Linked DNA regions of Homo sapiens: regions 1, 2, 3, 4 and 5 are each linked to region 6. Evidence: promoter capture Hi-C in human tissues and cell types (Jung and others, 2019). All regions are on one chromosome and are shown on one strand. Each heading gives the region's core, a stretch centred on a gene start or on the middle of the fragment in contact. The rest is flanking DNA. Distances are from core to core; before and after follow the strand shown.

Evidence for each region. The method cuts DNA at HindIII sites, captures the fragments that hold promoters and counts their contacts. A contact is called where the count stands out against the background at its distance.
Region 1: a contact is called between a fragment that was not itself captured here and the fragment with the promoter of PLEKHO2 in region 6, in 1 of the 25 tissues and cell types used here (adrenal gland).
Region 2: a fragment that was not itself captured here is called in contact with the fragment with the promoter of PLEKHO2 in region 6 in 4 of the 25 tissues and cell types used here (IMR-90 fibroblasts, bladder, dorsolateral prefrontal cortex and 1 more).
Region 3: a contact is called between a fragment that was not itself captured here and the fragment with the promoter of PLEKHO2 in region 6, in 1 of the 25 tissues and cell types used here (sigmoid colon).
Region 4: a contact is called between a fragment that was not itself captured here and the fragment with the promoter of PLEKHO2 in region 6, in 1 of the 25 tissues and cell types used here (heart right ventricle).
Region 5: a contact is called between a fragment that was not itself captured here and the fragment with the promoter of PLEKHO2 in region 6, in 2 of the 25 tissues and cell types used here (liver and pancreas).

Annotation. Positions count from the first base shown.
Region 1 is chr15:65,712,934-65,717,270 of GRCh38, reverse strand. DENND4A (DENN domain containing 4A) reads left to right here. Exons shown (of 33, transcript NM_001320835.1): 14 at 1,648-1,793. Among named protein-coding and RNA genes, the nearest start is that of MIR4511, 4.2 kb to the left of the region's middle. The HindIII fragment of the contact is 4,650 bases long and covers 438-4,337 here.
Region 2 is chr15:64,295,810-64,300,315 of GRCh38, reverse strand. The region is part of intron 2 of CSNK1G1 (casein kinase 1 gamma 1); the gene reads left to right. Among named protein-coding and RNA genes, the nearest start is that of CSNK1G1, 58 kb to the left of the region's middle. The HindIII fragment of the contact is 7,582 bases long and covers 1-4,506 here.
Region 3 is chr15:64,228,533-64,232,822 of GRCh38, reverse strand. All of the region lies in intron 4 of CSNK1G1 (casein kinase 1 gamma 1), which reads left to right. Among named protein-coding and RNA genes, the nearest start is that of PPIB, 68 kb to the right of the region's middle. The HindIII fragment of the contact is 8,680 bases long and covers 1-4,290 here.
Region 4 is chr15:64,248,123-64,252,962 of GRCh38, reverse strand. It overlaps CSNK1G1 (casein kinase 1 gamma 1), which reads left to right. Exons shown (of 12, transcript NM_022048.5): 4 at 1,382-1,451. Among named protein-coding and RNA genes, the nearest start is that of PPIB, 88 kb to the right of the region's middle. RefSeq lists an enhancer at 4,619-4,840. The HindIII fragment of the contact is 3,241 bases long and covers 127-3,367 here.
Region 5 is chr15:64,209,215-64,214,064 of GRCh38, reverse strand. It overlaps CSNK1G1 (casein kinase 1 gamma 1), which reads left to right. Exons shown (of 12, transcript NM_022048.5): 6 at 1-175. Among named protein-coding and RNA genes, the nearest start is that of PPIB, 49 kb to the right of the region's middle. The HindIII fragment of the contact is 4,963 bases long and covers 1,113-4,850 here.
Region 6 is chr15:64,838,955-64,843,166 of GRCh38, reverse strand. PLEKHO2 (pleckstrin homology domain containing O2) reads right to left here and starts at 1,252. Exons shown (of 6, transcript NM_025201.5): 1 at 1,139-1,252. The coding sequence starts at 1,150. LOC124903508 (a long non-coding RNA gene) reads left to right here and starts at 3,011. Exons shown (of 4, transcript XR_007064682.1): 1 at 3,011-3,313; 2 at 3,471-3,576; 3 at 4,033-4,147. RefSeq lists enhancers at 45-596, 629-1,152 and silencers at 960-1,399, 1,410-1,729. The HindIII fragment of the contact is 9,878 bases long and covers 1-4,212 here.

The DNA.
Region 1 (4,337 bases), core at 1,513-4,012, 870 kb before region 6:
TTTGTAGTATTTAACATTTGAAAGAGAAATCCATTTAATAAGTATATATTGAGTACCTCCGAATGCTAGGCATTGGATATATAGTGGTATGCAAAAGAGACATGGCCAAAAAAAAAAGTAAAAGATGAGAGACATGGTTATTTCTCTCAGAGAGCTTATAATCAAGAGGATAGGCAATTGGAAATAAAGAGTGAACAACTTCAGTTCACAACCTCATATCACGGAAGGCTTTTCTGAAGAAGTAACATCTGATCCATGATCTGAAAGATGAGTAGAAATTAGCCAGACAATGCAAATCGAAACCACAATGAGATACCATCTCACGCCAGTTAGAATGGCAATCATTAAAAAGTCAGGAAACAACAGGTGCTGGAGAGGATGTGGAGAAATAGGAACACTTTTACACTGTTGGTGGGACTGTAAACTAGTTCAACCATTGTGGAAGTCAGTGTGGCGATTCCTCAGGGATCTAGAACTGGAAATACCATTTGACCCAGCCATCCCATTACTGGGTATATACCCAAAGGACTATAAATCATGCTGCTATAAAGACACATGCACACGTATGTTTATTGCGGCACTATTCACAATAACAAAGACTTGGAACCAACCCAAATGTCCAACAATGATAGACTGGATTAAGAAAATGTGGCACGTATATACCATGGAGTACCATGCAGCCATAAAAAATGATGAGTTCATGTCCTTTGTAGGGACATGGATGAAATTGCAAATCATCATTCTCAGTAAACTGTTGCAAGGACAAAAAACCAAACACCGCATGTTCTCACTCATAGGTGGGAATTGAACAATGAGAACACATGGACACAGGAAGGGGAACATCACACTCTGGGGACTGTTGTGGGGTGGGGGGAGGGGGGAGGGATAGCATTAGGAGATATACCTAATGTTAAATGATGAGTTAATGGGTGCAGCACACCAACATGGCACATGTATACATATGTAACAAACCTGCACATTGTGCACATGTACCCTAAAACTTAAAGTATAATAATAATAAAAGAAAAATAAAAGAAAAAAAAAAGAAAGAAATTAGCCAGACAAAGGTAAAGTAGGAGAGTGTTTTACGCAGAGAGAACAGTTTACACAGTCCCTGAGACTGGAAAGAGCTTGAATTCCTGGGCCTGAAAGAAGGCCCAAGTGCAGTGTAACTGAGCATAATTAGTAAGGTGAATCAGGAAATAAACCTTTTCTCTGTTTTCAATAAGTAAGACACAAACATGAATGAATACGAGGGAATGTTACTGCTGCTTTGAGAAAGCCATTTATATATATATGATATATATATTTATATGGAGAGAGTGTGAGAGCAAGTATGTGCACATAATATGCAAAGCTTTTAGGGGAAAAGAGAGCAATTTTCAAATATACTAGTTTATAATCTTTAAGATGGTGAGAGAACAGTGGAGACAGTTCTGGATGAAGATTTGAGAGATCTGGGTTTATGTTCCTTTATTACTATTCTCCTATTTCTTTGTCAGGTCATTTTCCCTCTCAGCACTTGCGAAATGGTAGTGGTGTGGGAGGTATAGATGACATGGTTGTTCAGATTCTTTCTAGTGCAAATATTCTGTGAATCTATGAATGATATTATGTATTCTGACATTATATATTTTTGTTGAACAGCTTTCTTAAGAAGCCGGGACCGGTCACATCAAAAATTCTATAACATGATGACCAAAACACAAATGTTTATTCGCTTCATTGAAGAATGTTCTTTTGTTAGTGACAAAGATGCAAGCCTGGCATTTTTTGATGATTGTGTAGATAAAGTAAGTAACAGTACATCTACAATGCCCTAACTTATTTTGTGTGACTGTTATAAATGTTATGAGTTATAGTTTCTATGTACAGCTTTTAATGAAATTGAAATTAATTTCATTTTCATCGTTGACCACTTAAATGAAAGTTTTGGTAGCCTGCTAGAAATTATAGAATGCACCTCTTACAATTACCTTGTAGAATTTTACTACAAGGTAATTGTAATCATAAGTTTTATTGTAGCAATCAAGTCCTAACCCTCCCTGTCCACTTACAAAACCAGGAATTTTTTGCCAGCCTGTGCACCTCCAACTTGAACGTCTGTGATTTTCACCTCTCCTTTTTGTCTGATATGGGTTATCACATGCTGAAAGTAGGTGTGAAAGTATAATAAATGTTTTACCTGAATATTTCTACAATTGCGAATGAGTTCGTAGCTTAAATTAATTAGTTCTGTAATTTTAAATTTATGTATGAAACCTTTCCCTTCAGTCCTAATATCATTAGGTAGGACAGAGCAAGGCAGGTATTCATGCTGGAGAGAGAGGAGGTAGTAGGATGGTAGTCCAGAGAGGGGTTTCAAAACCTAAATAGGGTGGAGAGAGAGGAACAGCCTAGCTGGAATGTCAGAGCCCAAGCCAGGTAAGGAGAGTATTCCTGGAGAGGCATGGTCTAACATGGAGAATCAGAGGACAGGCAGTTTAAAGAGGGTATCCATGTTCAGGGGCAGACTGCTACAGGGTGTCAGAACCTAAACAGGATGAGAAGAGCATTCATACAAAGGTGAGCACAACATGCAGTGTCAGAGTCTGAGCAGGGTGAGGAGAGTGTCCTCATGGGGATAGCAAGGGAAGCAAATGAGATGTCAGAATTTCATATAGATGAGAGAGGTGCCAGCATGGTGGGGCAGGATTTGGTCTGGAGGGGGTTGTCAAAACCACATTAAGGTGAAGAAGTCATCTGTGTGGGAGAGGGGTGGTGGTGAAGATGGGAGAATGTTACATATGGGGGAGATTGATCAAATAAGTATATTAAAGATAATAAAGTTTTTGGGTTTTTTTTTTGTTTTTTTTTTTGAGACGGAGTCTCGCTCTGTCACCCAGGCTGGAGTGCAGTGGCGCGATCCTGGCTCACTGCAAGCTCCGCCTCCCAGGTTCACACCATTCTCCTGCCTCAGCCTCCCGAGTAGCTGGGACTACAGGCACCCGCCACCATGCCCGGCTATTTTTTTGTATTTTTTTAGTAGAGATGGGGTTTCACTGTGTTAGCCAGGATGGTCTTGATCTCCTGACCTCGTGATCTGCCCGCCTCGGCCTCCCAAAGTGCTGGGATTACAGACATAAGCCACTGCACCCGGCCAAAGATAATAAAGTTTCTTATTGAGAGAAGAGATTTACAAATACAGAAGTGAAGAAAACTAAAATGAACCCCATAGTGTTGGAATAGAATTGGAGATTTGCTGTATATCATTGGTTTTCAATGATAGATACAGAAATAAATGTAGATGTAAGTATATGTGTCTGTGTGTATATATACATATATTCCCTACCTCTGTACATTGAGAGGACCTGGATGCAGCCACACCCCAAAAGCAATGAGCACACCTAATGTATAGATTTTGACTTCTAAATACCATTCTCCACTAAAAGAATCAGGACTCAGAGAAATGGCCAGCCCCAGGTTTAGGGCAAGGACATTATTAGGCGATAAGCCCAAAAGTATCTTGTGCTAGAAAACCAAGAATTGCTCTAAGAATGATGAGACATGTTACAACAAAATACACACACAGAAGTCAATTTGAAGGGATTTCCACAGGCAAATCTAGGACAATTTGAGCATCAAATGTTAGTAACAGATTAGCCCATTGAGTAAAATAAGAAACCATGAGTGTACACAGATATCAATCAACTGAAAGTCATCTGAGAAGCAGGATCTTACATAGTTATTAAGGACCTTCCCACAAAATGCATATTAATGACAAAAGGGAAAAGAGTAACTTTATAGTGGAAAAGCCTGGCAAATGCCGTTTTAATCAAGTTATCAAAATGAACATCATCTGTAACGGGACAAGTCAACATTGTGTTCCTCTAATAGGTTACAATGAGAATGCAACATCAATTCTGTAATATTCCTGCAAAAATGTATGACCTATATAATCTCAAGGAAATACCAAACACATATTAAATGATATTCTACAAAATACTTATTCTGTAATCTAGAAAGTATTAAGGTTAAGAAAATAAAGTAAAAATGGAGAAGAAACTTGTCTAAAGTGAAGTAAGAAGACTTGACAACCAAATGCAGTGCTTAGTTAAGAACTAGATCCTTTTGGCATAACATTATTAGGTTAATCGACAAAACTTGAATGTGGTTTGAGGAGTATGTAGTAGTAATGTATTAGTGTGTTGATTTCCAGTAATAATGTATCAATGTTAATTCCCAGATGATTGTATTTCTGTAGGAGAATGTCTTTGTAGGAAGTATAAAAGTATTCAGGGGTGATGATGGGTCATCAGCTCAGCAGCTTACTCTCAAAGATTAAGGGAAGAAGTTAC
Region 2 (4,506 bases), core at 135-2,634, 540 kb after region 6:
AGCACTTGGTTATGTCAGTGACTTCTACTAACAACAATACCTATGATAAGCTTTGGTGTGTTTCAAGACAAGCCGTTTATAGTTTTACAAGAAATTTTTCTTAAGGAGAACCTGTTGTTAAGAAATAATTTGTGAAGGGGCACTATAGTCATTATCAATTATTTGTTATCCAAGGCTCATCTCTCTTTATGTGTGTGCGATGGGCTTTTAAGTTTTCTACCAGTTCTGAGATTTTCTGATGAACATAGAGTTGCATACAGATATCAGTAAAATGCAGACTCTGATTTAGGATGTCTGAGGTGGAGCCCCAAATTCTGCATATTTTTACAAATTCCAGGTGATGCAGATGCTGTTGGTCTTTTAAGAAGGACATAAGGCCTTGGTTTAATTCAGACTCTGCCCCTGAAAAGAAAAGAGTAAATCCTTACTCAGTAATACCCAGGCTTAGTCTGCAAGGATATACAGTACATCCTGTTTGGAGAAATTTTCCAAAAGATAATTTGTTTGCGTTTCTTCCTGGAGTTTCCAGCATTAGAATTAAGTTAGAACTCCAAGGAGAAGTTAGGCAATTTTATTTCCCAACTAAGGCAATGGATTTTCTATTTCAATTATGAATTTATGGGTGAGATGGAAAATAATGACAAAATTAATCTGTCTAAAAATGTGAGATTGGGAAGAAGGTACATTGGGTATTTATATATATATATAAAATTTTTTTTTTTTTGAGATGGAGTCTTACTCTGTCGCCCAGGCTGGAGTGCAGTGGCGCGATCTCGGCTCACTGCAAGCTCTGCCTCCCGGGTTCATGCCATTCTCCTGCCTCAACCTCCCAAGTAGCTGGGACTACAGGCATCCGCCACCACGCCCGGCTAATTTTGTTTTTGTATTTTTAGTAGAGACAGGGTTTCACCATGTTAGCCAGGATGGTCTTGATCCTCTGACTTCGTGATCCGCCCGCCTCGGCCTCCCAAAGTGCTGGGATTACAGGCGTGAGCCACCGCGCCCGGCCATTTATATACTTTTTAATGGCTCTCCCTTGATGAGTGGGATAGAGAAAATAAAAGGCCGTATAAATATATGAAGTTGGAAATTAGCCTGGAGAATGTGGAAAGGTCATCTTTTAGGCTAAAGTGTTTTCTTTTCCTTCATAGCTCTTGAGACTGTGGATTAATGTGAAGACTCATTGTAAGAAACTTTGGCCCTTTGGGGGGAGTGGTGGGAGGGTGGGAACATAATGTAATTATGTTTGTTACCTCTGCTACTTCTTTTTCTTTTTGAGATGGAGTGTTGCTCTGTCACCCAGGCTGGAGTGCAGTGGTGCGATCTCAGCTCACTGCAACCTCCTCTTCCCAGGTTCAAGTGATTCTTGTGCCTCATCCTCCAGAGTAGCTGGGACTTACAGGCATGTGCCACCATGCCCAGCTTATTTTTTTTTTTTTTGTATTTTTGTGGAGACGGGCTCTTGCCATATTGGCCAGGCTGGTCTTGACCTCCTGGCCTCAAGTGATCCACCCGCCTCGGCCTCCCAAAGTGCTGGGATTACAGGCTGAGCCACTACGCCTGACCACCTCTGCTACTTGTGATGGTCCTGCATAGAGAACATGGACAAAATCTTATCTCTGATCCCCCATAGAGAGCCTTGGAGAAACATCACTATACTAGCCAGAGACCATTTGAATTTAAGAATGATGAGAATGGATTTATTTTTACTGTTAGAAGGCTGACAACCTGGAAATTCAGGACTTAATTAGGATAATGAAAGGATCTTTATATTTAGAATTGTGTTCGGGTTACCAAAGCCAGCAGATGCTACTTACAATACGAGTAAGATGTGTAATTACTGCTTTACTTTCTAGCAATCACAGAGTTGCTTTAACGAATAGTTCTGTGAATATTTCTTTATGTCATAAATTGACTGTAACATCACAGTACTACTTGGATGGATTAAATAATTATGACATAAACATCCATAAAATGATTGCTAAGAGGCAGTTTCTAAAGCATCTAAATCTTTGAATTCTCAAAACATCAGACAATTGTTTCATTTCTGTGAAAGTGAAGAAAAACCTTGGTGAATTAAAAGTGGAAATCTGTTTAATCACTGAAGTCTAGATTTGTATTATAAGTTTACGTGGGAAGGGAAAAATTCATTCAGTTAAAAGCATACATTTATAGCCCATATATATTTTCAGAGTAGTATTGTGTTTTGTTTCCTCTTTGAATCTGAGATAATTTTGATGTTTCTCATTTGGACTTGCCTGTAGTCAGAAGAACTTGTCTTTCTTTTCATGTGCTTTTACTCTTCTCTGCTTATCAAGTTTTCATTAGCCCTGGGACCATACTGTTATGGCCTTGTATCTAGAAAAGATACTTTCAGAATTATCTGGCATCTTCCTGACAATAGAGTGGGCTGCATACCCCATTCCGTCATTTTCTTGTTCTAATATTAGCGAGGAGAAGATTGTAAACTACAAAATTCCAAAGTCAAGGCAGGTGCAGTCAGCCTACATCATGGCTACCACCTACAAAGCTCTGCTTCTCTAAACTAATTTCCTTTCCTAGACACACAGTCTGTCAAACAGCCAAGTGCATTTCTTCTTATTCTTTTTTTTTTTTTGAGAGACAGGGTCTTGCTCTGTTACCCGCCCTGGAGTGCAGTGGCATGATCATAGCTCACGCAGCCTCCAACTCCCAGGCTCAAGCGATCCTCCTACTTCAGCCTCCTTAATAGCTAGTGCATAAGAACACGCCCAGCTAATTTTTTTATTTTTAAATGTTTTGTAGAGATGATGTTTTGCAGGCTGGTCTTGAACTCCTGGCCTCAAGCGATTCTCCTGCCTTGGCCTTCCAAAGTGTTGGGATTACAGATGTGAGCCGCCACACCTGACCAACCGTGTGCATTTCTGCTTCAGAGCCTTTACACTTGCAATTCCTTCTGCTTGCAGAATTATTTCCCTAAAATTTTGCGTAGTGGGTTGTTTCTCATCCTTTAGGCCTCAGCTTATGTCTTACCTTCTCAGAGAAACATTCTATCACTTGTTCCTCATTCTCATTTAAAATAGCACGTTTCTTCTCTAGCACATCCTGTCTCGTCAAACTGCTTTATTTTATTCATTGCATTCATCACTATCTGAAATGACCATATGTATGTTTCCCTATTAATTGCCTCTCCTTACTTGAATATAAGCCCTTTAAAGGGCAGGGATTCTTTCTGTATTGTTTACTGTTATTTATGAGATGGAAGGATAAAAAGCTGATGAATAGGAAGAGGGGGGAAAATAAAGCATACTTTCTTTGGGCTCCAGGTTTATGTGGGGGTGGTGGTAGATAGTAGACCTATCGGTTCCAAACAGCAAAAAAAAAAAAAAAAAAAAAAAAGTAACGATAGTGCATTTTGGTTCTCTGCAAATGTTTCCACCCCATTATACAGTTTTCTTTTTTTTTTTTCTTTTAGATGGAGTTTTGCTCTTTTTGCCCAGGCTAGAGTGCAGTGGCACAATCTCGGCTCACTGCAACCTCTGCCTCCCGGGTTCAAGTGATTCTCCTGTCTCAGCCTCCCAAGTAGCTGGGATTACAGGCGTGTGCCTCCATGCCCGGCTAATTTTTTATTTTTAGTTGAGGCAGGGTTTCACCATGTTGGCCAGGCTGGTCTCGAACTCCTGACCTCAGGTGATCTGCCCACGTCAGCCTCCCAAAGTGCTAGGATTACAGGCGTGAGCCACTGCACCCAGCCTTCATCATACATTTAACAACTATTTCTTGAATATTTACTGATACTAGACTCTGGGAAGGATAGAAATAAGAAGATATAGTTTTTGTCTCTACAAATACCACAGTCTAGTGGTAGACAGAGAAAAACAAATTGCAATACAAAGTGATAATATAGCAGATTGGGGGCTGGGTGTAGTGGCTTATGCCTGTAATCCCAGCACTTTGGGAGGCCAAGGCAGGCAGATGACTTGAGCTTAGGATTTCAATACCAACATGAGCAACGTGGCAAAACCTCGTCTCTACAAAAAATACAAAAATTAGCTGGGTGTGGTGGTATGCACCTGTAGTCCTAGCTACTTGGGAGGCTGAGATGGGAGGATGGCTTGAGCCTGGGAGCCTGATGCTACCATGAGCCAAGATCACATCACTGCACTCCAGCCTGGGCGACAGAGTGAGACCGTGTCTCAAACAAACAAAAAACCAGATTGTATGGAAACTACATTGGCAGAGAAGGTTAATAAAGGCTTCAAAGAGGAGGTATGATTTGATGATAGGACAGGATTTCTGCTGGTAGACATAAGGAAGAAGAGCTTGTGCAGGATACACAATCACTAGATACTGTGCAAGTGCCCAGCATATCACAGCAGCATTTAGTTATACATGACTGGGTCATAGGATGTGAAGTGAAAGAAAAGTAATAGAATGAAGCTTTTAGGTAAGTTGGGACGAAATTGTGAAGTGTTTGCATATATTAAAGCATTTGGACTTTATCCTGTAGGCAATGGGGTCGAATCA
Region 3 (4,290 bases), core at 1,120-3,619, 610 kb after region 6:
ACCTGTATGTTTCTCTTCCATCCGTATTCTCACAGCCATTTCTCTGGCATTGAGTAGAGCTTTTAGTGGCTGCCGTTAGAGAATGCTTGTTTAAGGAGGTCAAAGACAAGGGAAGTCTCAGTCTAAAATAAGGACTAGAAGTAAGCTCAGTGACCCTCAAAGGACTGACCACAGCCCTTAGTCACTCTTCTTCCTAGCTCATAGTATGTCAAGGTTAATCATTTAGAAGGGAGGTAACATTTAGCATTCCCAAAGCTGTGGAGTACTATGGAATGAAGAAGGTGAGTCATTGAAGAGAATTATTCCTATGATTATGAGAAGGCAGAATTATGTATCTACTGTATTATATTAAAACTTAACTAGTTCCTTTCCAGTATCTGTCAGTGTCATTGGTAAGAAAACATTTCCTTAAGTTCCAGTAACAAACTATTTAAAGATAGATAACTCCTTGTGCCTACTATCATAATAGTAATCTAGCTGCTAGCTAAGCCCTTTTCTATTTGAGAATATAAGTTATTTGTAAGTGTGCTTGGAACAAAAACCAATAAAAAGATCAATTTTTAACATTTGTGACAATTATATTGTCATTTTCTTTCTACAAAAGTAATTTATATTCCATCCATTAAAAGAAGAGTTTGTCAGATCTGCACGATTCTGCATTCTTGTGCTTTCAGCAGTCTAACACACTTTTAACATTTTTCTGCATTTTCTTTTCTTTATACTTCATATTGCCTTAAAGCCAGCCTGTAGGTAATCTCTTCTACATTAGTGATAATGCAAGGAGATGAAGTTTTCACTAACAAAACACTACACATCACTGTGTTTATAGCTACCACTATGCTGGGTAATTTGAGGGCCAAAGAATTATAAATAAGATGATCTCTGCCCTTCAGTACACTAGAGTGTCATTGGAAGGAAAATGTAATATTTACTGAGCTTACAGTATGTTCATGTTAGGACAGTGAGGTTAATGGTAGGACAATAATGGTAAGTAACTGTAACACAAGCTAAAACAGTAGAATGTTATATATATTTTTAAAATGCATATAAAATGAGGAAGTTCTGAAAGAAAAAATGGTTTCTAATTTTGAGAAAGAGAAAAGGTTTTATAGAGAGAGTGGCATGTATGGGGCTGAGCTTTAAAAAACGACTATGATTTATTTGAACATATAAAAATGGAAGAGTAAGGAAAGCTTTCCAAGTACAAAAAATAAACCAAGTCCCAGAGGCTGCTATGTCTCTGTTCATGCATTTATTAAAGAGATATTCTTGAGCATCCCACTTGGGTTAAGTACTATTCTAAGCTAAGTCTTAGGGATACAGTAGTGAACAAGATAGGCACAGCACCTAATATATATATGTATATGTGTGTGTGTATATATATATATATCCTAATATATATATACATATACATATATGAGCAAGACCTCATCTCCAAATATATATATGTTTATATAAATATAAAATATAAATATATATATAATATATATATATTTGGAGATGAGGTTTTGCTCTGTCACCTAGGCTGAAGTGCAGTGGTGTCATCACAGCTCACTGCAGCCTCAACCTCCTGGGCTCAAGAGATTCTCCTACCCCAGCTTCCTGAGTAGCTGGGACCACAGGCATACATCACACGCTCAACTAATTTTTTTATTTTTTGTAAACATGGGGTCTCCCTATGTTGCCCAGGCTAGTCTCGAACTTTTGGCCTCAAGCAATCCTCCTGCCTCAGCCTCCCAAAGTGCTGAGATTACAGGTGTGAGCCACCATGCCCAGGCTTAATTAATGTTCTAAAAGGAATATAACCTGCAATTTTATTTTATTTTATTATTTATTTATTTATTTTTTTGAGACGGATTCTCGCTCTGTCACCCAGGCTGGAGTGCAGTGGCACAATCTCGGCTCACTGCAACCTCTGCCTCCTGGGTTCATGCCATTCTCCTGCCTCAGCCTCCTGAGTAGTTGGGACTACAGTCACCCACCACCACGCCTGGCTAATTTTTTTGTATTTTTTAGTAGAGACGGGGTTTCACCGTGTTAGCCAGGATGGTCTCAATCTTCTGACCTAGTGATCCACCCACCTTGGCCTCCCAAAGTGGTGGGATTACAGGCGTGAGCCACTGCACCCGGCTGCCATTTTATTTTTAAATACCCTCACAGACCTGAGTACTCAAGTAATGGGGACTGTCGTGCTAAATGTTGAAAATAGGCCCAAGCCTAGAGTCAGAATAGGGACCAAAGAAGATTTAGAACTCTGGCAGTTTGGGAAGGATGAGGTGGGAGAACTGCTCGAGCCCAGGACTTCAGGACCAACCTGGGCAACCTAGTGGGACCCTGTCTCAACAAAAAATTAAAAATTAGCCAGGCGTGGTGTCACACGTCTGTAAGTCCCAGCCACTCGGGAGGCTGAGGTGGGAATATTGCTTGAGCCTGGGAAGTCAAGGCTGCAGTGAGCCATGGTTTGTGCCACTGCACTATAGCCTGGGTGATAGAGTGAGACCCTGACTTAAAAAAAAAAAACCAAAACTGGCAATTTGGCACTATATACTAAAATATTAACTATGCAAGCATTTGACTCAGCATTTCCTGTTTAAGGAATTAACATTCAAGATATGTTTACCGGGCAGGGCATGGTGGCTCACGCCTATAATCCAAGCACTTTGGGAGGCCCAGCGCGTCAGGTGATCTGCCTGGCCAACATGGTAAAACCCTGTCTCTACTAAAAATATAAAAATTAGCCGGGCACGGTGGCGCATGCTTGTAATCCCAGCTACTCCAGAGGCTGAGACAGGAGAATCCCTTGAACCCGGGAGGTGGAAGTTACAGTGAGCCGAGGTCGCGCCACTGCCCTCCAGCCTGGGCGACAGAGTGAGATTCTGTCTTAAAAAAAAAAAAAAAAAAAAAAAAAAAAAAAAAAAAATTTACAAACATGCCCAAAAATATAGGCTTAAGGATTTTTTTTTGTAGTATTGCATGCCTATTTGTCTAGATGCTTTTATTTGCCAAGAGTAGAATCCCAGTTCAAGCTCACTTGAGAGAGGGAGAGGAGAATTTCTTGGCTCACAGAACTGAGAAGTCAAAAGCATTCTCACTTCAAGCCATCCAGATACAGGACTAATAATGTCCTTGGTCCATAGGTATGTGATACATTTGCCTCTCTTTTTTTCTCACCTCTTCTTTCTCTGCATTAGCTTCATTCTCAAATAGGCTTTCTCCATGTGGTGGTCCCTGGCAACTCCAGGCTGAGCTGCTTTCAGTTTAGCGATCAGGGAGAGAGAGAGAGAGAGAGAGAGAAAGAGAGAGAGAAAGAGAGAGAATACTCCTCCTTCTCTATAGTTCCACAAAAGTCCTAGAGTTGACTCTTGTTACATGAGAGACATGGCACCCATTCCTGAGCCAGTTTTCCCAGGCAGGCAGATAGAGTATTCTGAGTAATTGGGCTTGTGGCATCCTCGGGATGTCAGTGGGAGATGGGTTGCCCCCACTTTAACCACATGAAGTAACACTGGGGAAATGGTACTTTCCACTGTAAGAATAAGGTGGTGTTATCAGAAGGAACAAAAGGATGCAGACCAGGCAAAAGCAATAGGTGTTCACTATAATATATATTTCTAATTAACACATGGAAACAGCATGAATGCCCATCAGTAGGGGGAAAGTTAAACAGATATGTTACATGGTGGAATACTATTATACTACTATTAATATGTAGCTATTAAAATGAATAAGGTAGGTCTATATGTTGATAAGAAAAAATATCCACTCTGTAGTATTTTTCTTTTTCTTTTTTTTTTTTTTTTTTTTGAGACAGAGTCTCACTCTGTCGCCCAGGCTGGTGTACAGCGGTATGATCTCAGCTTACTGCCAACTGCTGCCTCTGAAGCTCAAGTGATCCTCTTGTCTCAGCCTCCCAAGTAGCTGGGACCACAAACACACACCACCACACCTGGCTAATTTTTTGTAGTTGTGGTAGAGACAGGGGTTTCACCATGTTGCCCAGGCTGGTGTTGAACTTCTGAGCACAAGCAATCCACCTGCCTTGGCCTCCCAGACTGTTCGGATTATGGGCGTGAGCCACCATGTCTGGCCCATGCTATAGTATTAAATTAAAAATGAAGTTGCAGTACACTGTTCTTAATCATGTGCCTTTGTGGTTGTGAATACTTTTTCTTTTTCTTTTCTTTTTTTGAGACGGAGTCTTGCTGTGTTGCCAGGCTGGAGTACAGTGGCATGATCTTGGCTCACTGCAACCTCCGCCTCTGGGGTTCAAGTGATTCCCCTGCCTCAGCC
Region 4 (4,840 bases), core at 498-2,997, 590 kb after region 6:
GTGCTGGGTTGGCAGACATGAGCCACCATGTCAGCTACTGTTGAGGTTTTAAAGAGAGATTATAATGTGTTTAGGGTAATGTTTGGTTTTCTTGTTAGCCAGTTGCCCAGTACACTGTCAGTTTAGAATAATCAGCCAGCCAGTTGCTCAATTGGTATAGAGCAAAGTATGGTTGTTTGGCTGCTTTATCTCTGAGGTTTTTAGAAAACTCCATTTTTGGAAACTTGAACACCACATTGATTGAAGTTACATATTTTAATTGCATTTACAATCTTTAATTCTCAATAGTTTAAAAAGAAATATACATAAGGATGTTCCTAAAAGCATTGTTCATAATATTGGAAAATGAAAACAGTTCACGTGTCCAAAAATTATGGGGAGGGTGTGTATACATACATACATAAATACATATCCACATACAGGGCAATACTCAAACCATTAAAATAATATAAGCCAGGTGCAGTGGCTTATGCCTATAATCCCACAGCACTTTGGGTGGCTGAAGTGGGAGGATTGCTTGAGCCCAGGAATTTGGGACCAGCCTAGGCAGCATAGTAAGATCCTATCTCTACAAAAAATTAAAAATTAGCTGTGAGTGGTGGCACACACTTGTGGTCCCAGCCACTCGGGAGGCTAAGATAGGAGGATGACTTGAGCCTGGGAGGTTTTGACTGCAGTGTGCAAGACCCTGTCTTAAAAAAAAAAAGAAATTATACACGTTTATTTACCGCCATGGGAATATGTTATTACATTGTTGAATTCAATAGCACATTAATGAACAGCAAATATATTATAATCTCATTTATATAAAATTAAGTTCATTAGTCTATATTATATATATTAATACATATATAGATAAATAAATACTTTGAAAGACATTCACTAAAATGTTAATAGTGCCTCTCTTTAAAGTGACAGGATCACAGATGATTTTTACTTTCTTCCTAATTTTTGTATATTTGAATTTTCTTCTGAGCATGCATTATTTTTCTAAAAATAATAAAACCATGAACCACCCAAAATTCTGAACAAAACAAGCAGGAAATACATTCTGGTATTTTTTTATTTAAAGGTTTGGCATCAAGTTTCCTGGCAGAATACATTCCAGGAGAATATTTCATTGCAAGAAAGATATCCTTGAATGATAGCTCATGCAAAGTCTATTTTTATTTAACTATCCATGGAAGGACTTGTATGTAATTCACCTTCATCTTCTCTTAGCTATACTGTCCAAGACCAATTGTGGTTAGAAAAGGCTCTTATATATGGATATTATCTCTAAAACATTGGGTGATCTTAGCCCTCGTTTACTCCAAAAATTTAAGAATGGAAAAATCCCATTTGTTTAAATCTGATCACAGTTTTTCTTTTTGGATTTCAGGAACCAATAAAATCACGTGCTCCACAGCTTCATTTAGAGTACAGATTTTATAAACAGCTTGGCAGTGCAGGTAAGTCAAGTCTTTTCTCTCCACTTACTTAGTATGTATCTTAGCTGGAAGCCCTAAAATATACAAATTTTTTTGTCTGGTTTGCCCTTTTTACCAAACCATCTATCTCCCCTGCTTGCCGGATAGGTAAATAAACATAGTCAACCACAAAGCTACTTGCGCTCTGGTTCCTGGAGTTGAGTTGACAGGGGAACTGTGTTGCTATGACTATGCCCACAGACCAACCTGCAGATGCCTTCCACTTGTCAAATACTCATAGTGTGAAGGATTTGCTTTTCAGCAGTTCATTCTCTTTTCTTTACTTATACCAAAAGAAAGGAGGAAATGTTGGTAATTTGCAAAATATACTTTACCATACTGAGATGGTTTATCTGTTTTGAAGACATACTAAAATATACATTCTGAAATATTACAGAACCGTCATTTTATCCATTGTCCTCATTAATTTGCAAGAGCTATCCATATGATTGTAATAACCTATGACCTTCGGCAATTTTTAAAAATTAAGTTAATCACTGTAAAAAATGTTTGTTTTTACCAAAAAGCTCTAATTTCTCAAATATCTTACTGGCTTCCAGAAAAATGTTTTGCTAATGTTTACCTGTAGGGACAAGTCTCTCAGAAGATGAAATCTTTCAGAGCTATTTTCACTATTTGACATTAGTAGAATTTCCTCTGCTTTATGCCCCCTTCACTGTGACAGGTTTTATATGAATGACTAAAGCTTGGTTTCTATTTTTTTTTTCTTTCTTTCTTTCTTGTTTTGGAGACAGGGTCTCACTCCCATCACCCAGACTGGAGTGCAGTGGCACGATCACGGCTCACTGCAGCCTGGGCCTTCTAGGCTCAAGCAGTTCTCCTGCCTCAGCCTCCTGAGTAGCTGGTACTGTAGGCATGCACCACCACACCAGGCTAATTTTCTGTATTTTTAGTAGAGATGGGGTTTTGCCATGTTGCCCAGGCTGGTCTTGAACTCCTGGGCTCAAGTGATCCTCCTGCCTTCAGCCTCCCAAAATGCTGGGATTACAGGCATGAGCCATCATACTGTTTGTTCTATTTCAAGTAACCCTATGAAGGTACTACTGAAGGAATTTGAGTTCTGCATCCTAAAATATTTAGAATTATATGAGTCATTGTGTGTTATTCAAGTTTTATTATACCCTGACTATAGCAATAATCAGCTATAGTTATAACCCAGGGAGCCCACAATGGACTTGTCTTTCATTGAACTTAATATGAATTCTTGCTCACAGTAGCCTCTCAGTATATATTTGTTAATTGATTGGAGTGTTTTTGGCATAAGATTTAAGACTGGCAACTGAGTTCACAGGGTGTATACATAACTTGAGGCTTATCTTCCCACATGCCCCAGGACTACATTTTAATTGTTGTTCCTCTTACATTCCTGGTTTTATAATGTTGTTAAGTTATTCTAGGTTTCATAAGTTTTAGGGAAAAGACTGTCACAGCCCATTTATGATAAGCATGTTTGTATATGTCTCATAAATCCAAGGGTCAGGTAACAACATGCTTAATCCAGTCCAGCTTAGAAGTTTAAGTGGGGAAGTGGACAGGCCAGTTTTCAGGATTTCCTCTGTAAGCCCTTTCAAATAGATCCACCAAATCAGACCAATCTTCCCTTTTCAATATAGAGCCAAAAAAAATCTAATGTATTTGTTAGGTAGGAATAACATCTGTGCTGCTGGGTTGGTACTCTTCCCAAATACAGAAAATTGCAAGCTCTTGAAGTTTCAGCATTCTCTGTGCACTGAAAGCGAGGAGTAAACAGGGAGGGCATTAGAGGAAAGGTGACTATACAAATTGCTTTTCACTTAAGCAGCAAGGAAAAACTGGAATCTCTGAGACTGGTATATCCATCATTGTCATGAGTGGGAATAGGAGGGCTCTGTTGTACTGGTTAGGCCAACTGTTGACTCATAGTCAGGTAGGCTGGCCATCGTTGGTCTGTCTCCCAGTACCTTTTCTAACAAACATGTAAAGGTCACAAAGCCTTCTAGGTCCTATATGCAGTTCAGTGGTGACTACTGGCCTCTTTTCTGCTTCTTGAGATCACCCACTACTTCTAAAATAGCTGCGGTGGGCATCATCTTAATACCCTTGCCTGCAACTAACAAGGTAGCTGCAGACTTTTCCAAGATAGGAAGTGCTTTAGTTTTCTGTTTCAAATCCCCTTGCTACCCCTACCCGCTAGTGTAAGAATTACTTTTAGGATTTTCTTACAGTCATCTAAATCGGCTTGACTACTTAGTTCTAATCATAGAGTTCACCACTCTTCAGGCTAATTTAATGTGGGAAAGTCCAGTGTATTTGAAGTTCTTCATATTAGGCCCAAGTTTGCCATTTATTTATATATTTATTATTTTTAAAATTTAGATGGAGTCTTGCTATGTCACCAGGCTGGAGTGCAGTGGCACTATCTCGGCTCACTGCAACTTCCGCTTCCCGGGTTCACGCCATTCTCCTCCTCAGCCTCCCGAGTAGCTGGGCCTACAGGCGCCCGCCACCATGCCCAGCTAGTTTTTTTTTGTAATTTTAATAGAGACGGGGTTTCACCATGTTAGCCAGGATGGTCTCGATCTCCTGACCTCGTGATCCGCCTGCCTCGGCCTCCCAAAGTGCTGGGATTACAGGCGTGAGCCACCACGCCTGGCCAATTTTTTGTATTTTTTTAGTAGAGACGGGGTTTCACCATGTTGGCCAGGATGGTCTTGATCTCCTGACCTCGTGATCTGCCTGCCTCGCCCTCTCTAAGTGCTGGGATTACAGATGTGAGCCGCCGTGCCTGGCCATATTTTTTATTTTATTTTTTCCAGAGTCCAGATGAGGAAGAACATTGGGATATTTTTAAAATCCTGATTATATTATCCTATTGATGATTAGGCATTGACTATTTTTTTATTGTAATTGCATATTGGTCCCACTCTCCCCACTCCCTGCCATAAGATTATAAGCTCCTTGAAAACAAGCCTTGTGTCTTCTTTACCCTTGTATCTCAAGCGTATCTTAAGGCCTGGTGTGATGTCATTCTGTCACATAGCAGTCAGCAAGTAGTTCAGTGGCAGAAAGAAGTTAGAAAGATTTAATAAGCTTGCCTTTTTAGATTTTTACCAATGTTATTAATAAAAATATTCCTTGTGATGGTTAAAAAAAGGAAATTTATTTTGAAAGAAGATCAATTGACAAGAAAATAGACAAGATTTCACCATGTGTCCTTGTAAATGTGAGCATGAACACCAGAGCTTGTTTTTAACTTAGAGGCACAGCATTCCTCCCCCTATTTTTTCAGAGTAAGTTCTCAGCTGCAAGTATGACTCATTGGTAGTTAATGTTTGAGCAGCCAGTGCGCATATGCCACTCTTTTGATTACC
Region 5 (4,850 bases), core at 2,345-4,844, 630 kb after region 6:
AACTTCCTGATTGGTCGACAAGGCAATAAGAAAGAGCATGTTATACACATTATAGACTTTGGACTGGCCAAGGAATACATTGACCCCGAAACCAAAAAACACATACCTTATAGGGAACACAAAAGTTTAACTGGAACTGCAAGATATATGTCTATCAACACGCATCTTGGCAAAGGTGTGTTTTTTTCTGTTCCATGAAAGGGGCGAGTCATTAGAACAGTTTATTATTTCTGTAACATTATATCCCCATTGTGCATTACAACTTGTGGTTTTTATTGTTTCACAAGGTTGAGTGATTTTTATACATGAGAAGTTGAGATGGTAAGTTAATGACTTTTCAAAGAATCCTATAGACTATGCATAGGTTCTTAATTCTTTACACTGTTTCCAAATGTTTAGTTTCTGAGCAGTGTGAGTACTTGAATTATTGTAAAAAGAGGATAGCATTTTAATGAGTTTAGTAATGAATTTGGTATTTACTTATGTATGACCCTATATATGATAGTCCTGAAGAGGACATCAGGCTGGGTCAGCGGTGGGGAAGAGTGCCTCACTAAAAATGGAGTAGACTTCTGTTCACTGCACATAGTTCTGCACAGAAGTCTTCAAGGAAGAGCTTCTGTCTTATTCAGTGAAAATATACTTGGTTTACCATTAGTCTTGCAATTTACTCAGGATAAACAACCTGCACAAATATTGTTAAATGCTCTAATCAAGGCAGAAGACCTTACCTGTGAGGAACTAGCCCAAGGGGGAGAGTATTTGTCAGAGAAGCCTAAGGAACAGTGGGGAGACCAAGCAGGCAGAGCCCTAGGCTTATCCACTTCAAAAAAGCCTCCCTTTTTTATGTTTCATATATTGGGCTTCCATGGAAGATTCTATTTGAAGAAAAGACTCCTAGGTGATTGAAAAAAACATGTTTGAAAATCAACATTCTAGAGAGTAGACAAGCAGAATATTCTCAGATTCCATACTCCTAGGCAGAAATAATTATAAAATATTCTTAAATATTAGTGAACTATTGCACACTAAGATGTATTTTATTTTATTTATTTTTTTGAGATGTAGTCTCGCTCTATCACCCAGGCTGGAGTGCAGTGGCACGATTTCGGCTCACTGCAACCTCTGCCTCGCGGGTTCAAGCAATTCTCCTGCCTCAGCCTCCCGAGTAGCTGGGATTACAGGCATGCATCACCACACCTGGCTAATTTTTGTCCTTTTAATAGAGACGGGATTTCACCATGTTGGCCAGGCTGGTCTTGAACTCCTGGCCTTAAGTGATCTGCCTGCCTCGGCCTCCCAAAGTGCTGGGATTACAGGTGTGAGCCACCGTGCCCAGCATATTTATTTTATTTTTAGAGACAGAATCTCACTCTCACTCAGGCTGGAGTGCAGCAGTGTGATCATAGCTCACTATAACCTCAGTCACCTGAGCTGGAGAGATCTTTCTCAGCCTCAGTAGCTAGGGTTACAGGCGCATGCCATCATGCCCAGCTAACTTCTAAATTTTTTTATAGAGATAGAGTCTCACTGTGTTCCCCAGGCGGGTCTCAAACTCCTGGTTTCAAGAGATCCTGTTGCCTCAGCCTCCCAACACACTGGGATTATAGATGTGAGCCACCATGCCTGGCCTGCACATTAATAAGTATTTTAAAGACTAATGTAATATCTACTAAGTTCCCTCATTGAGTAAACTACACAGGTTATTCACCTGAGGAATTCAAGTGATAGTGAAGAGTAAAAAATGGCATTACAAAGTAGTATGATACAATTCGATTTGAAATTATGATGTTATCAAGATTTTTTCAGTAACCACATGGAAATCCTCACTTAAGTAAATGTAATACTTTAAAATTAGACTAGAGGTCCTCTGGTACTTACTATCAGCGTTACTTTGGACAAGTTACTTAATCTCACTGAAACTCCTCTGTAAAATGAGGGTAATGCTTCACAGGGATATTTTGAGGGTTGAATGGATAATATATGTGAAAGCACCATGTCTGACATAGGTCTCTTGCATAGTGCTCAGCATCCCCTTCTTCCTTCACAATGACAAGTAATTTTCCATTTTACAAGGAAACAAAAACTGTATCTTAAATAATAAACTTAAGATTATGTGGTTTAACTGACAAACTCTAGAAGTTGTTTTAATGCCCACTTCCTGGGCTCAGCCATTTGTGTACTAATTTTATTGTTCTTAAGAGGAAAGACAAGAACAGACAAGGGATGGGTGTTCATGTTATGTTTGTATAAGATACAGAGTAGTGGTTAAGAAAAAGGATGCAAATCCTGGCGCTCTTTCTTAATAGCTATGTAATTTTGATCCAATAACCTTCTTCCCTCAGCCTCGGTTATCTCATGTATAAAATGGGTATGATAATTATGCCTGTAATATATGGTTCTATGAGATAATGTATGTAAAATGTTTAGCATAATGCCTGATAATAGTAATATCAGTCCATATTGTAATTATCCCGATTATTATTTATTCAACAAAATCTGTTTTAAGCATCTACTGTGCATCAGTCTGTTTCATCTCTTGGTGTACTGCCATTCCTGCCGGGACTTTTGAGTTTACCCCCAGACTTGGCTTACTGAGTACCAGAGTTTTTCAGGTCAAATCTAACCTGTCATCATATTTTGTGCTCTCTGCATTACAGAGAATACATAAAGAAAGTTGTCACTGCTTTTTAAACTCTTTCCCATGCCTCAAACGATAGAAGTTTTTGTAGGAACTCTAATGCTATTGGTTTTTAAATGTGTTGCATTTTTTTGTGTTGCAAAGAAGAAATGACTGAGATGTGTATTTTCAAATGGCTTTGAGAAAATCACTTCTTAATTTTACAGAGGAGGAGGACAAGAGAAGAAGCCTCCTAAACCTTGCATTAGTTGCCACATCAGAGTAGCCACACTTACTTAGTCCATTTTGTGTTGCTATAAAGGAATACCTGAGGCTGGGTCATTTTATAAAGAAAAGACCTTTAAATTTGGCTCAGGGTTCTGCAGGCTGTACAAGAAGCATGGCACTGGCATCTGCATCTGGTGAGGGCCTCAGGGGCCTCATGCTGCTTCCACTCATGGTGTAAGGGGAAGGGGAGCAGCCAGCATGTGCAGATCACATGGGAAGGGGGGTGCTAGGCTCTTCTCACCAACCTGCTTTCTTGGGAACTCATCCCTAAGGGAGGTCGTTAATCAGTTAATGAGGGATATACCCCCATGACCCAAACACCTTCCATTTGGCCCAGCTTCGAACATTGGGATCAAATTTCAACGTGAGGTTTGTGTGTGTTGGGGGGTCCGGGGGAAGGACAGAAATCCAGACCATAGTAGCCACCTTCCCACTGATTAAGCTTTTACTGAGAAGCCCAATTTATATTATTTAATGGTTGAAATTAGGGTGAGAACACTGGGTTACCTTGCTCCCTGCCTTCAACAAATATATTTAACCTAAAATCAGGGATGTTATGCATGTAAACCAAGCACATCTTTCTGATTGGATGAAAGCACACCTTTCAACCAATCAGAAGAATTGAAGAATTTTGTGTCCTGCTGGTCTCACTGGTATTGGAAACCTTTCTTCTTTGAAAATGAAAATATGCTGCATGAAAAAATGAGGGCATGTAGAAATAATGAATTGGACAAGTGTGGAGTGTTCAAAGTCGTATGAAAATAAAGCATGCTCTGGTTTTCACTCTTATTTTTTTCCTGAAAGGCCCTAAAGGCTTAAGTTATCAGATTATTTTAGAATTTTAGAGCTGGAAAATGACTTTTCAAATTCTCCCCAGATTGAACACTTTATTTTCAGATGAGGAAACTGAGACCCAAAGTAGGTGACTTGACCATGCTTAATTTCACTGGATTAAATTAGTGGAAAGGATAAACCAAGATCTAGATACCTAAATCGTTGAGCTGATTTAGGTACCCTTATTTTGGGTACCTTATTTAGGTACCCTTCCTGATTTAGGAACCCTTATTTTTCCTATTGTCCCATATTCTATAGTTCTTTTTCATAGTTCTCAGGATTTGAAAAGTTACTTTATTACTTATTCCAGTGAGTTTTAAAAATATATTAATCTCATAATTTATTTTGCTGTGAAATCTTTTTTCTGTAGGCCTGATCAATATTGAAAATGTGGAGAGTTTTCGCCCTCTAGTGCTCAACTGTTTAAAATTCAAACATTTGTCCAGTGAATTTTTAATAACCAAGGGGCTTCTTGTTACAGGAAGTGGATATAAAAATGGAGAGGCAATGAGTAGGTGTGATACAGTATGAGAAACTGCAGAGTCGTTTCTCTATCTGCCCTGCTTTGTGGGAGGCCTCCACTCAACTCTCCTTGTTCTTTTCTCTTTTTCATTTGTGCATCCTTAGGTTGTGTCAACAAACTGTTTTTGTATAACTGCTTTTTTTTTCAATTATGAATATTTTATTGCAAACTTCAGACAAGCCATGTAGACAAAGGATTCTGATGGTCATGCTGTTTTCATTCTTTTTAAGATTGTTTCAATTGTTGTATACCAACTCAGTTTTATGTTATTTATCTCTGTCAGGGTACCTCTCCTTCCCATTAGTAACCATCTTTTTACAACCTCCATCAAATCATTATTTAAAAAGTTGCCTTTTCTTTCTTCATCTACCCTGTAGACTACTATTCTTTTTCATGCAAATTCCCTATAATTTAAGGCAATAGTTAAACATGTTGCACTTCTGTATTTTGAGTTAGCTGAGTGGCTTTCTCTGGCTCTCTTGGGTTTTACTTTCTGTACAAAGAAAGCACAATCAAGTTGAAGGTAGCCTCTTAGTCTTGCTTCTGTAGTTTATTCAGATAAAGCCCTAAACTTGATTCTGAAAA
Region 6 (4,212 bases), core at 3-2,502:
GCCCTGACGGACCACTAGCTGCTCCTATCCATGGCCCTGGAAAAGTGGGAGGTGGGCACTGAAGGGACACAGGCAGTCCGGTCCACTCAGGGCTTCCCAGCTGGCCAGGGTTCCCCCAAGGCAGAGAACTTCATCTTTCCTCCCCATCCAAGGAGGCAAAGACATGCCCCTTCCCTTGGGCTGAGAGGGGCTGAAGCTGGGACCCCCTCAGGGGATAAGAAACAAATTCACCTTCCTCTAGACCCAACAGGCCCCTCATTTTAACTTAATCATTCCACAGGCATATATTAAGTGCTTGCTGCGTGCTGGACCCTCGGATAAAGCGGCTGCTGGCAGAACTGAGTTTGCAAGTAAAGGGCAGGGGCAGGGGCAAGACCCAATCCCAGGCCAAGAGTGTTTTGAGTGGTTAGAAGGAGGCTCCAGGGACACAGTTGGTCCAGCCCTCGGGTGGGGAAGGCAGGGACTAAGATCAGACCCTAGGTGGGCCGGACTCCCGATTCCTTCCCTACAGCTAGCTGCTCAGATGGATGTGGAGCGGGGAGAGAGTGGGGGAAAAGATACAGAGACTTATACAAGGGAGAAAAAAGCAACTTCTCCAATCCTCCTGCCACCAAAGCATGGTCACATCCTTGAGACAGGAACCCCCCAACACACACATACACACACACACAGAGTCAGGATCCGATCCTTGAGACAGGAACCCCCCAACACACACATACACACACACACACAGTCAGGATCCGACACACACACACACACACACACACACACACACAGAGAGAGAGAGAGAGTCAGGATCCGACCACGGTAATCGGGGTTCGAGCCCAGTCACCCAGGCCACTTTCAGCAAGTCATCAATCTCGCTGGAGTCTCAGTCTCCTGGTCAATCCAATGGGAACGGTAACAACCACGACGCCCCACAACTGGTGAGAAAGTCAGCGAGAATGAAGGAGGACGCGGTCTGCGAAGTCCCCGATATGGATCCAGCCCCTCGCCCCTGCCCCATTTGCCCAGGCTCTTCCTGAGGTGAGACTGGCGGGAGTGGGGCGGGCAGGAACGAGGGCCTGAGCCCAGGACCGCAATCCCCGTGAGGGGCTCGAGGACCCCAGCCCAACGCCCCGCCGGGCCCCGCCCTCACCTCCTCCTCCATGGCGAGTCCGCCGAGGTCCCGCCGCTCCGCCACTCGCTTCCAGCGCCGCGCGGGCTCTGCCACCGCGTCTACGCCCGGCCAGGCGGCGACTCTCCGCGTTCTGTCCCGCCGGCTGCCGGGGGCCCAAGAAACTTCGGGGGGGCGGGGCCGGGGGCGGGGTGAGGCTTCCGGGGGCCGGGGCGGGGCCGGGGAGGGGGCGGTGGGGCCGGGGGCCCGGCCCAGGGCGGGAAATGGGTGGGGAGGGGCGGGGCCTGGGTTGGAGACTGGACGGAGGAGCCGGGCGGAGATGCAACTGGAGGAAGAGGGCGGGACGGGGCGGAGAAGGTTTCCCGCATCGGCGGAGGGAGAGGGACTAGGAGGGGGCTGCGGCGGGGGAGGAGAGGGGGCTTCCGGCCCAGAGACTGAGGCGAGGGTGGCGGGAGCGGCGCGCAGGCAGGGCTGGGGTGGGGCGCACACAGTGAGCGCTGGGGGCGCTGGCGGTGGAGCCTTTGAGGTCTCCCGAACCAGTGGGCTGGGGTTGCGAGACCGAGCCGAGCTGCCCTGGGCGGCCAGAGATGTGGGCACACAGAGGCTCCTCCTCTTTCCTCCCCGACGCCGGGCAGTGGGCGGTGGCCTGGTCTTCTCCCTGGAACCTCTGGGCGGGGCCGGGCCTGGAGCTTGGGTCTCTGTCCGGAGGGTGGTGTCACAGGAAGAGCTGGAGCTGAGAGTCGGGACTCCGGGGTCCCTTTAGGGGGCGGCCCGCCCCTGGCTCTCAGGGGTCTCCAAGCGCAGTGTTCTCCTGCTCTCCTTGGGCATCGCTCAATCCCTCCCGTATCTGAGGGTCGACCATCCCCCCGATCCCGCGGTGAGCTTGCAGCCCTGACAGCCTTACTGGAGAGTGGGAGTGTGGGGACCAGCAGAGAGTAATGATTTTAGTTATACCATGCGCCCTCATTTTACATTGGAGAAACTGAGGCCCAGAGAGAGAAAGTAACTGGCTGCATCGCAGCCTGCAGCACCGCTCCCCTCTCACACACACACGCATACTCCCCCTTAGCTCTCCTGGTCAACCCCGTCCCATGCCAAGGAAGGGAAAATTAAGTGCATGTGAGATCAATGGTGACCTTCTTCGGCTCTGGCTGCCATAGCAGCGGCTGTGCCAGCGACCAAGCTCCCCTTTCACGGCCTTCTGCCAGCCCTCAGGCTCCCAGGCTACTTCCAGCCCTGTACGGAAAAGGGCAGCCTGGGGCTCCCAGGCCAAGGGGGAAGGAGATGCAGGTACACTTCTCCCTCATGCCTAGGCCTGGGATCCTTTAGCTAAAGGAATGAAGAAAATTGAGGCTGATATTATCACACTGGTCAAGAAAAAGAAAGAATAGAAAAGAAAGAGAGAGGAAGGAGAGAGAGAGGAAGGAGGGAGGGAAGGAAGGAAAAAAGGAAAGAAAGAAAAAGAAAAGAAAGAGAAATGAAGGAAGGAAAGAAAGAAAAGAAACAAGGAAGGAGAGAGGAAGGAAGGACGGAGGGAAGGAAGGAAAGAAAAGAAAGAGCTGGGAGCGGTGGCTCACACCTGTAATCCCAGCACTTTGGGAGGCTGAGGCAGGCTGATCACCTGAGGTCGGGAGTTCAGACCAACCTGACCAACGTGGAGAAACCCCGTCTCTACTAAAAATAGAAAATTAGCCAGGCGAGGTGGTGCATCCCTGTAATCCCAGCTACTTGAGCGGCTGAGGCAGGAGAATCGCTTGAGCCCGAAAGGCGGAGGTTGCAGTGAGCTGAGATCACGCCATTGCACTCCAGTCTGGGCAACAGGAGTGAAACTCTGTCAAAAAAAAAAAGGGAGAGAGAGAGAAGGGAGGGAGGGAGGGACGCAAGGAGGGAAAAGAGAAAGAAAGAGAAAGAAAGAAAGGAAAGAAAAAGAGAGAAAGAAAGGAAGGAAGGAAAGATGAAGGAAAATTGAGGCTGAGGATCTGAGATAGTCTGTATATGTAGCAACCTCTTTCGGCCACCACATGGTTTTACTCCCTCAATCTGCAGAGCTGTGCAGCATTCTACTCCAATGATCAAGGACTCAGAAGATCTTGTATCTGGAAACTCATGCTCCACCTGCAGCAGACCAGAGACCCTGGGGAAATTCATTTTGTTACACAGAAGCAGCCCTTTGTAGGGAGAGAGCAGTGAGGACAGGTTGGTTTGACATCCAAATAGTTCTGTCATTTTGGGGAATGAGCCATTGAGAACTACTCTGGCCTCAGTTTCCCCATCTAGCTCAAAAAACCCTCTGGTTTTGCCTCTATACTGTGTGCTTTCATTCAACACATATTTTATTTTCTTTGTCTGTCAGTCCCTACAATAGTGGCTGGGAGATAATGGCAGAGCTCAGGATCCCTGTCCTCTACTGGGGAGAAAGGCATGTAAGAAGATGAGAATGCCGAGTGTTAAATGAGAAGGTAAATGCACAGAGAAGGGGCACCAGAACCAGGACAAAGGGGTAGGACAGGCATTCTAGGGAGAGGGGACAGCGTGTAATCAATGGCATGGAGGCATGAACAGCACAGCATGTGTATGTAGGGCGGCCAGTCTGGAAAAGCAGACAGCTTTGTGCAGAGAGGGCCTTGTAGGTTGTGTGGAGGAGACCACATTTTAACCTCAGGGCAATGGGAAGTCATTGAAGGTTTGGGAGGTGTGGGGGTCTGTTTTGTGTGTGTACCATTTAATCATTCTGCAAAGTGTACTGAGTGCCCCTTAAGTGGGGGTGCTTTCTAAGGCATCATCCTACAATTATTCACTGAAAAGAATGTAAGGCCCCCTGTTATCTACTCAGTATTCTAAACTCTCCCTATATCTCATTTAATCCTCACGAAAGTATCCATGAAATAGATACAATTGTTATCCTCATTGAACAGATCAGGAACCTGAGGCTTGAAGAAGTTAGATGACCTGGTTAAGGCCACTTGACTGGATTCAAACCCTGCCTGACTCCACATGACTCCTTTGGGCAGCATCGTGTGACCACACCACGTAAGATCTAGGTCCTGCCTTGGAGAGCTGATGAACCAAACCAGCAGGAAGGTAGACAAGTCCTG